Regions from separate parts of the Homo sapiens genome. Here region 1 is linked to region 2. The links are contacts of gene promoters, found by promoter capture Hi-C in blood cells and fetal thymus (Javierre and others, 2016). All regions are on one chromosome and are shown on one strand. Each heading gives the region's core, a stretch centred on a gene start or on the middle of the fragment in contact. The rest is flanking DNA. Distances are from core to core; before and after follow the strand shown.

Evidence for each region. Contacts are between HindIII fragments. The CHiCAGO score rates a contact against its expected background, and 5 or more counts as called.
Region 1: a fragment that was not itself captured here is called in contact with the fragment with the promoter of BACE2 in region 2 in 1 of 17 cell types (total B cells); the score reaches 5.3 in total B cells.

Annotation. Positions count from the first base shown.
Region 1 is chr21:41,367,191-41,371,742 of GRCh38, reverse strand. All of the region lies in intron 1 of MX2 (MX dynamin like GTPase 2), which reads right to left. Among named protein-coding and RNA genes, the nearest start is that of MX2, 7.4 kb to the right of the region's middle. RefSeq lists enhancers at 1,419-1,628, 1,562-1,706, 1,581-2,267, 2,499-2,558, 2,268-2,956 and 3 more, a cis regulatory region at 1,634 and a silencer at 2,819-2,868. The HindIII fragment of the contact is 5,010 bases long and covers 1-4,159 here.
Region 2 is chr21:41,166,575-41,171,094 of GRCh38, reverse strand. It overlaps BACE2 (beta-secretase 2), which reads right to left and starts at 2,935. Exons shown (of 9, transcript NM_012105.5): 1 at 2,520-2,935. The coding sequence starts at 2,831. It overlaps MIR3197 (microRNA 3197), which reads right to left and starts at 3,538; the gene lies at 3,466-3,538. RefSeq lists a silencer at 2,927-3,376. The HindIII fragment of the contact is 3,467 bases long and covers 870-4,336 here.

The sequences.
Region 1 (4,552 bases), core at 405-2,904, 200 kb before region 2:
TAAGGAGTAAGCAGAAGATTACTCCTTAACTCCTAGGTCGAGGATATAATAGGCTATTGGCGTGACCGTCTCTGAGTGCTCACTTAGTCCAGCACCCCATGAGATCATAACCAGATGCTGTACATGACCAGGAGTAACTCCAGCAAGGCCTGGCTCTGCTCCATTTCATGTACGCAGTTAAGCATTGTCAAGGATTAGCCTCACACACCAAGTCTCGTGCCCAAAGGAAATGCCAGCCAGAGGAAATGCCGGCCAGACTTTTCTGACCTCCAGCCTGGTGTGGGTCCGCTGGAAGAGACCTCAAGGCAAAAACTTTTCAGACCTCTTTGGAAGGAGCCATTTCAGGTCCTCCTAGCAAATGCCAGGGCAGTCAAGATCCAAGGTGTTGACCCAAGTACTCAAGAGTCAGTAGAAACAGGCAACAAACCCAGACCAATGGATCAGCTCAAATGACCTCAAACCAACACTAACCACAAAAGCCTCCAGATGCAAAAACTAAGAGCTATGGACCAAGCAGTCGGCTTTGGGAGTGGACAGCTTCACTCGAGATGACGAGACCAGATAATGATTGAACTTCTTGTGACTCCCACCACAGTGGATTTCTTTGTGTGTATTTTTAAACATTATACTCATGGCTATTCTCTCTTTTTCAGGATCAGATTTCAATCCTGCAACCACGTTTTCTAATTTACTTGTTTTTGTCTTCTTCCTCCCTCCTTCAGACCAAAACACATTTTCTCCTAGCCCACCCTAAGAATGACTCAGCAGTCCATTTGGAAATCTTGCCTCTTGCTGGATCTGCCACCCATTTCCAACTCCAGGAACCACACAAATCGTGAGCATTCCCCTACTGAATTCCACGCCATACATTTTCCAACACATAATTCCAACACATAATTACCTTAAGATCCATAGAATAAGTATTCTTATGCCCAGACACACATAGGCTGCCATAATCACTCCTACCATAAAACACAACCCGCATGGCCGCGGTCTGGGGGAAATGATCCTGCCTCCTATATGAGCACCCTGATGCTTTTCACATCCCTTTAGATCTGCTCTCAATTTCACTGAAGGCAATGTTACCACATACTTACATTTCTCATGAACAGATTTTTGCTTCCAACTCTTCTCCGCTCATGAAATACTGTTATACAAACAATAGAACCATTTGCAAGAGAAATATGCATGAAGAAAAATGTCCACGTGCAGGAAGGCAAGACTGTTTAGTTGCCACGGAAGTGGTCATCGCCGTTTGCTGAAACAGAGCTCATGGGAAACTTTTCTCTCCGAACAACCCCACACCGCCCCACTCCAACGGTGCCACGGGAGGGCCCCTTTCCTTACATGGTGCCAATGCACCCCCATGCTGGCCCGAGGACCGTCATCGTACTTTGGGGGCTCCTAGCGATACAATCTCAGGATTCAGCTCCTCTCCTGTCCCATTTCCTCTGCTCGTCACAGCTTTCACAGAAGTAGCTTTGCTGGAAGTGTTAGAGCCGCAGGTTCCAACAATTAACTTGAAGGTCTTTCACCTTGGTAGTGGTTCCGGATTTACGGCTATCACAGGCTTATCCCTTGCTCTGGGTGGAATGACACAGCCCAGGAAAAGAACCTTTACCCACCCGCCATGGTGGGACGGACGACCATCCAGCTTTGGGCCACGCAAGTCGTGGGCGGAGCTCTGGGGAACACTTCCTGTTGCTTTGCTACCCTCGTCGAGTCTAGCAAAACAATCTCCACATGCAAACACTGGCTTTCCAAAGTAGAGAGCAGAGCTTGGAATCTTTTCTGGCTAAAGGCAGGCTGAGGGGGACGCGGGCTTCCTGGAAGTTCCCCGACTTTGCTGATGGGACTGTCCCCTGCTTGCTGCACAGCCACGGCGGGGCGGGAGCGGGGGCGGGGGCGGGGGGCAGGGGTGCGGCGGGCAGGGAGGTCCCCGCTATTGTGGAGGGAGGAGAGTGACTGATCGCAAGGCTCTGTGCTGGATGCGGCATCATCCCCCATGCAGGGTGGCCCTGGCTTCTACCGAAGGTGGCTGCTGAGAGCGCCCTGCAGGAAGGCCCCAGGGGCACCAGAGTCCCAGAGCAGCACCTCACTTCTCGGGAATACCCCTTCCAGAAACCCTGAGGCCAGCCCAGCACTCCCACCTGCTGGCCCAGCAGCTCTCAGCGGCTTTCCTCCCTTGGGACAGAGACTGCTTACACTGCCGGGCTCAAAAACCTGCCCCGTGCCCCGGCCAGCCTCATCCCCAGATGTCACCCTGTGATGACCTGGACTGCCCTCTCTGCAGTGGAATCTTCACTAGGACCCTCTGTCTCAGCGTTTCCTAATGAGCTCTTGCCCAGTCTTGCATCCTCCCCGCGCAGCCTCAGAGGGGCGGATCTTCCAGCAGAGCCAGCGGCTCCTGAGCTCAGCAGCCCCACCTGGGGTCCCTCCTCACTGGGAGGAAAGACCATGGTTGTGTGAATGGCCCCGCCGCCGCTCAGCCTTCAGCTCCTGTTCTCCAGCCTGGCTCCCAGAGGTCCAGGTCCACAGGCCTCCTGCACCCCCCTCCTCCCATGGGGGCTGAAAGCACTTCCTGTTTTCAGAACTAGCCCTGGGTTCGTAAAACGTTTTCTGATGTGAAATCCTTGAAACCAGAAGGGCTAGGCAGCAATTTTATGGGATCACTGAGAGATGAGTCCATCTAAAGTTGGCACAAACAGCTCCTAGCCCTACGGAGACTTTCTCAGGGGGTACAGGAGGGCTTGGCCAGGACCCAGCAGCTCGGTGGGCCTGGTGGCACCCACCCTAGCAAGTGAGATCTCAGGTGGCCTCACTCCACCCATCTGTCTGGGAGGGAGCCTGGGACTCTGAACCCCTAGCCACAATATCCTTCAAAGGCTGAGAGCTGGAGCCAGCTGCCCTTGGTGACGAAGTCAGGGGTCCAGGAACAAAACCGAGTGCTGATGGGAGGTGATAACTCAGCCTCAACTTCTTCCTCTCCATGGGAAGAAAGAACAAGGGAAAGGAGGGTTCCTTTTGTGAAGCCCAATATTCTTCATTTCATGTTCCTTTTAAAACATATTTAAAACTGTCGCCACCCTCACCCTCACCCTCATTTTCATGAAGGGCAGGTCTTGCTAAGCGTATCATGAGCTGATTAAGTTTGAGAGGACAGGAGCTGGGCACAGATTGCTCTGCAAAATAAAGGGGTGAAAAGTTGCAGGGGTGAACATGTGTGAAGGTCGGAGGCAGGAGTGAGCCGTGGGGTGACATGTAGGGGATGAGAATTCCCTCAGTCCCCCTCCCCATTGCAGTTTAGGGAGGATTTTCTGACACGGGCCTGTTGAGTAAGGAATGTAGGTTTCGGGTTGTCTGGTGTGTGCCTGGTGAACCATCTGTCTCCCCTGCACAATCTTCAGAAATGGCTACAGTGTGTCTGTGTGAGTGGACTGTCTCGGGAGCCTGTCGGCTGGCTGGGTGCCCCTGCAGGCTCACGGAGACGACACGGAAGAGCCGGGTGACACATGGACAGGTGGGACTTGGGCTATGCACAGAGGCAGGAGGGAATGAAAGTGGGGGGCTTAAGAGGCTTAGGGGTGCAGGCCTCTGCTTTCAGGAGCCGCTGCACTGTGGGTTCCTCTCCAGGGCTTGGTCCCCACGTGGGAGCTTCCGCAGCCCAGTATAAATGCAGAGCATGGGAGCTGTGGACCTTGACTTGAAGAGAAAGTGCAGGTCTTGAGAGAGGGGAACTGAAAAACCAAGAAGACAGCTGGTGAGAGAAGAGGAGAAAAGAGAAGACAAGGTGGCTGTCAGGGTGCAGCAGACAGCCAAGTTAAGAGTTAAGACAAAGATGAGGAACAGGGTGAGGTCAGAATCCAGGAGGGAGCTACTGAGGGCCAGGTCGGGGGTGACGGATCCAAGGAAGGACAGCAAGGCCTTGATAAGATGCAGTGGACCCAGAGGAGAGGTGAGGCCAGCTGGCTCTGTACTGCTGAGCCGCAGGATTTGGAGTTGCTGTCAACTTCGAGGCTGCTGTTAAACCAGGGGGCTGCCAAATATTTTCAAGCGGTGACCAGGCCAGGAGTCTGAAGACTAAGAAGCATGCATTCTGGATGAATTGAAAATCGGTAAGAAAATAGGAGGGGATCCTTTTTTCTTAGAGGATCAAGCTTGGAAAGTCCCTCCTTCTGACTGAGAAAAAAAAGGGATTTGGTTTATTGCAGCTCCCACACTAGCAGGCTGCTTTGCATCTTCCAGTTTTAGCCATTGCCGGGTTCTGCATCAGACACTTTCCTATAACATTACCATCTTATTCAGGTTTCCCCGTAGAATCATTCACTGAAAAACAGCCACTTAACATGGTCCTGCCTGCCTCCCAGGAGTGTCAAAAGAAAATGTGATCCCGTGGAAAAGGTCTCTGCTTTAAAAAAAAAAAAATTTCACTCAAGAACATATCCATGGATTTATTTAATCTCCTTAATATAAAGAAATTATGTTAAGATTATGTTAAGATTAGTCTCCTTAATATGCAGTCACAACAAATTACCTTGCAGAAGTCCAAGCT
Region 2 (4,520 bases), core at 1,686-4,185:
TCAGGAGGCATGAAGGGAAGGAAGTCGTTATCTGTCTGGTGGTTCAGAACTTGGCTTCTGAAGTTCAGCTCCCTGGCTTCCATTTTTGGCCCTCCCTCTTTCTTGCCCTGTTGCCCTGGAAAGTCATTCAGTCTCTCCGAGCTTCAGTTTTCCCACCCCCAAATGCGTATAAGACCCCCGAGGGGTGGTGGGTGGTGGGTGGGGATTCCTGGGAAAGCACACCTAAAGCACAGAGCGCAGTGCTTGTCACGTACTGAGCTTTCAGACATTGTCTATGACTATTACTTAATTCTTGAAAAATTCTTGGTTATTTATTGCTTGAATTTACAATTCCATTTTTCTCTCCACCTAAGCAATTTTTATTTTAGGCTTCAGAGAATCAGCAGAGAATAAATGCATGACTCCTGGCCATTAATAGAGCAGGAAAGCTCACTCCAGGTTCAGAAGTCACCTCACTGCTGCCCCCTCTAGCCGGCTGCTGACACCCTGCTGGTGGTCAGAGACATTTCAGGGCAACACAGGCAGGTAGTGAATCCTAATGCAGTAGTCAGGAAAGCCTGACTTTACAGTAGGCATTTGGAAAGATTTGGTTATAAAGCAGCTTATCGCTAAATCAAGCCAGGAGGGAGGTACAGGATATTTCATTCCCCATCACATGTAAAAATTAAATCTGTCTCTGTAGAAGCAGCGCTCCCTGGAAACATGCTAATGGTTGAGAAGTAATCTTGAACCAACTACTGCCTTGGCTACGGTAAAGACAGGAGCCTAGGTACTCAATACATTTCTGTTAATTAAATTAATTAAACCTCATCATTTTAAAATAAAGGTCATTGAATTAATTAACAGGCAAGTTATTATTTATAAAAGCTTTTTTTTTTTGATTGCCAAAGTTAAGTATTTTTTAGTCCTTCTTCAGGCTTCTCCCTTTCCCCTTTGCTCTGGAGGGAGGGTTTCAGGGCTTCTTTTATCATAGCCCTCAGACCACCCACATTTACTTTTAGTAGAGAGAATTCCCTCGCATCAAAGCACACATGTCCAATGGGGATTCATTCAAGGCCTGTTCCAAAAGATTCTCTGCAGGTCACAGAAGAGGTTCTTCCTCAATATCTTGTCATATTTCCAAGGTTCTCAGCACCAGGCACATGTTCCCACGTGTTGGCTGCACCAAGACCACATCTTACAGCCAAGTTAAGCTCCCTCAGCTGATGGGGATTCCTATTCCCTCCCTCTAACCATCCACTCCTGGAGATGGCAAAGATCACTCACGTGGCTTCCCATGACTTAGACGAAAGGCAACTAGAATCAAAGTTTGAATATACGCTTTTGAAGGTTTTTTTTTCCCCCTAAACTAATTAAACAACTACAGAAGTTATTCGGCAGTTTCCTTTTTTAAAAGAATTAGCATGGCATGTCTTTCCTCTTAAAGTCTTGAATAATTTAATGAGAATTATACAAAAGTCATGAGTATGTTCTATTTATGGGGGAATCATAGCTGAATCAAAACCCAAATGACAATGTTAAAAATAAAAATAAACTATCTTCAAATAGTGCATTCAATTGAGCAAAGGACTTCAAATCCCACTTGGATTAGACAGTTTGAAAGTAGGAGGGGGCAGATCAATTGGGATTTTTTTTTTTTTTTTTTCAGATCACTGTGCTTGGGAACATTTGTTTCTTGCTACAAAAAGTGTTAGTAAATGAACATCAGAGTAAGAGAAAAGGAAAGCTGTTTGATTTTATTTTTGTGTTGTAATCGGGATACCACTTGGTCCCCGGACACCTCACTCAGCCCCTGTTTTTTTCCCGGTAGCTGGAATGCTTTTCACACTCTGCACACCCGCGTGTAGATGCATCGCTCCGTGCAGAGGGGCAGGGCCGCCGGATGAGCGAGGACACAGCTGACAAACCAACTCCGAGAAAGGAAAGCGGGCGCAGGGGAGACGCTGCTCCTTCCTCAGAGCAGCAAGCGAGCCACTTCTTAACCGGGTTGCTTTTAGCTGAGCTCATGCATAAATCCTTTTTAAAGGGTACTGCGCCTTTGGAAGCCGGCCACGAGCCTCTTTAGCAATGAGACAGCATGGTGGTGGGGTGGGGGGGGGGCGGGGGGGAGGGAGGGTATGAACACGAGGTGATTTTCCCCATAATAGCCCGTCGCCCAAGGCCCACCGCTCCGTCTCCCGCTGGAAGTAGGTGTCGCCCGCAAGAAGGAAATCACGTTATTGGAGGCGGCAAGTTCCAGGTCTCCTCTCCCGCCCAGCCCCGCGGAGGGGGAGCTCACAAGTTCTGAAACACTCGCGCACACCCCTCAGTGCGCCCCGGGCGGGGGCTGCCGTCCTCCGCGACTCAAGAGCGAGCGCCCCCGCTCCCCGGCCCACCCGAGCCCCTCTGCGTTCCCCGCTCTTCTGTGCGGGGACAGCTGCTGCTTTGGGGGCGACGCTAAGCCGCGTGGAGGCGTCTCTGGACAGCCCCCTCCCTCCAACGAGCCCGAAAAGCCCGCGGCAGCAGCCGGGGGTCCCTACCTTCTGCGGGGGGGTCCCGATCAGCATCTCCAGGTAGTAGCCGCGGCCAGAGTCCCCCTGCAGGTTGTCTACCATGGCCAAGAAGTTGGCGGCGCCCGCGGGGGACGCCAGGGCAGGCTCCAGGGCGAGCGCCAAGCCGTCGGCGTGGCGCTCGGCAGGGGTCCCGGGTCCCGGGGTGGGCGCAACTACGCGGTTCGTGGCCGCGGCCACCCGGAGGGGCAGCGTGAAGGGCGCGGGGGCCAGCTCCGGGGCGGCGCGCAGGAGCCACTGGGCCAGCAGAGGCAGCAGCAGCGCCCGGGCCAGTGCGCCCATGCCCACGGCGGGGCCCGGGGGGCGCGCCCAGCCTAGCCGGTCCCGTCCCGTCCGGCAGCCGCGGCTCAGCGACTCGGCCGGCGCGCGGGGCTGCGGGCAGGGATGGGCGCGCACCGGGACCGGCGGCGGCGGGGAGGACGGGAGGAGGGCCCAGGGGAGGAGGCTCGCGGGAGGGGAGGAGGCTCGCGGGAGGGGAGAAGGCGGAGGCCGGGGAGGCGGGCGCGGAGGCGCAGAGCCGCCCCAGCCCGCGCCGCCAAGTTGGGCAAGTTCTTCTCCGCTGCCCCCTCTGGCGGCCGCGACTGCCCCGCAGCGGCCCAGCCCCTCCCCCGCGGCCAAGGTCACAGCGGGGCTCGGGGGGCGCCGGGGTCCACCTGCGCCTGCCCTCCCCACCCTCGCCGGGCTCAGGCCGCGCCTCTTCCCCGGGAAACTCGAGTCCCGAATTTCCTCGGAAAGCGCCCCAGCGGCCACGGCCAACGGATGTGACGAGGCTCATCTGATACCGGGGGGAAAGTTTCGAGAACCCTTAAAGGGGCAGCGAGGGCCTGAACTAGGGCCCCGGCCCCGCGCGCTTGGGGGTCCGCGGGGGTCTATTCGCCCGGCAGTGGCGGGAGCTTCCGGGGGTGACTCGGAGGTCAGCGAGGAGAGCGGTGGATCGGGAAGGAGCCTGGAGCCTCGCGCGCCTTTCCGAGCCTGCGCCTCCCCTCGCCAAGCTCCTCCGCCTCATTTCAGTCGCCGGGTCTGGCTGCTTTCGAGGCGTTTCCCGTCCGCTGCCCCCGAGCCCCCGCCCTCAGTCCAGCCCGTTCCCCGGCCTCATCCCCCGGCGGCCCCTGGGTGGTTTTAAAGAGGTCTCAGTGGAGGCTGGGAGGGTGGAGGGTGGAAGGAGGCAGAGGAGGATGCGAGAGCTTTGGAGAATTTTCCCTAAAAATCGGGGGAGGTGGGGGGCGTGGCTGCTGCTGGCGCCTGGCCCCAGCCTCATTGCCCCCCCTTACTCCCTCTGTTGCCCACAGCTAGCTGCGAAGCTGGGCTTCACCCCAGCCACCTTCCCCCCACCCCCGCCCCCTTCGCCCCCTCCGCCGCGCCCCTGTCCCTAATGCAGGTCAGATGCTACTGGAACCCGCTGCCTCCCCTGGCACCCAGCCCTCAGGCCACCTAGTAAGTTGCTGTCAGGATCCCAAATCAGGGCCACGAGTCCACCCTGCTGTGATCCCTGCCCTTCTCCCCCACCTCCCCTTCTATCCCCAGCCAGCTCTCTGCGGACTGTCTAATTAATACTCGTTTAGCCATAGACGCCAAGACGCAGAAATGCGTTGAGTAATGCAAGCAACGAGGGTTATTTTATTTTAGATACTAAAGGCAGGGGGGACAATTAGACAAGCTAAAGTCCATCGATTTCTACAGAAACAAGGAATAGAAAATTCTTTGTACCTCCTCCAGCTGAATTATGTTGGCTGTTTTAAAAAACAAACAAGCCCATCTTCAAACAGTGGGGAGTTAGAAGCCAAGCTTCCCCGAATCACTGCAATTTTCAGCTACTTCTACTCAAGATTTGATTTTTATTCCTGTGTTCCCAATTTTAGAATCACGTCTAGCTCTGCAAGGGACCTTTATGTCAGAGATCTTCAAATGTATTGATTTTCAGATGACTTTAACCATAAATCACACTTCCCCCAAACTATATCTCAACTTTAA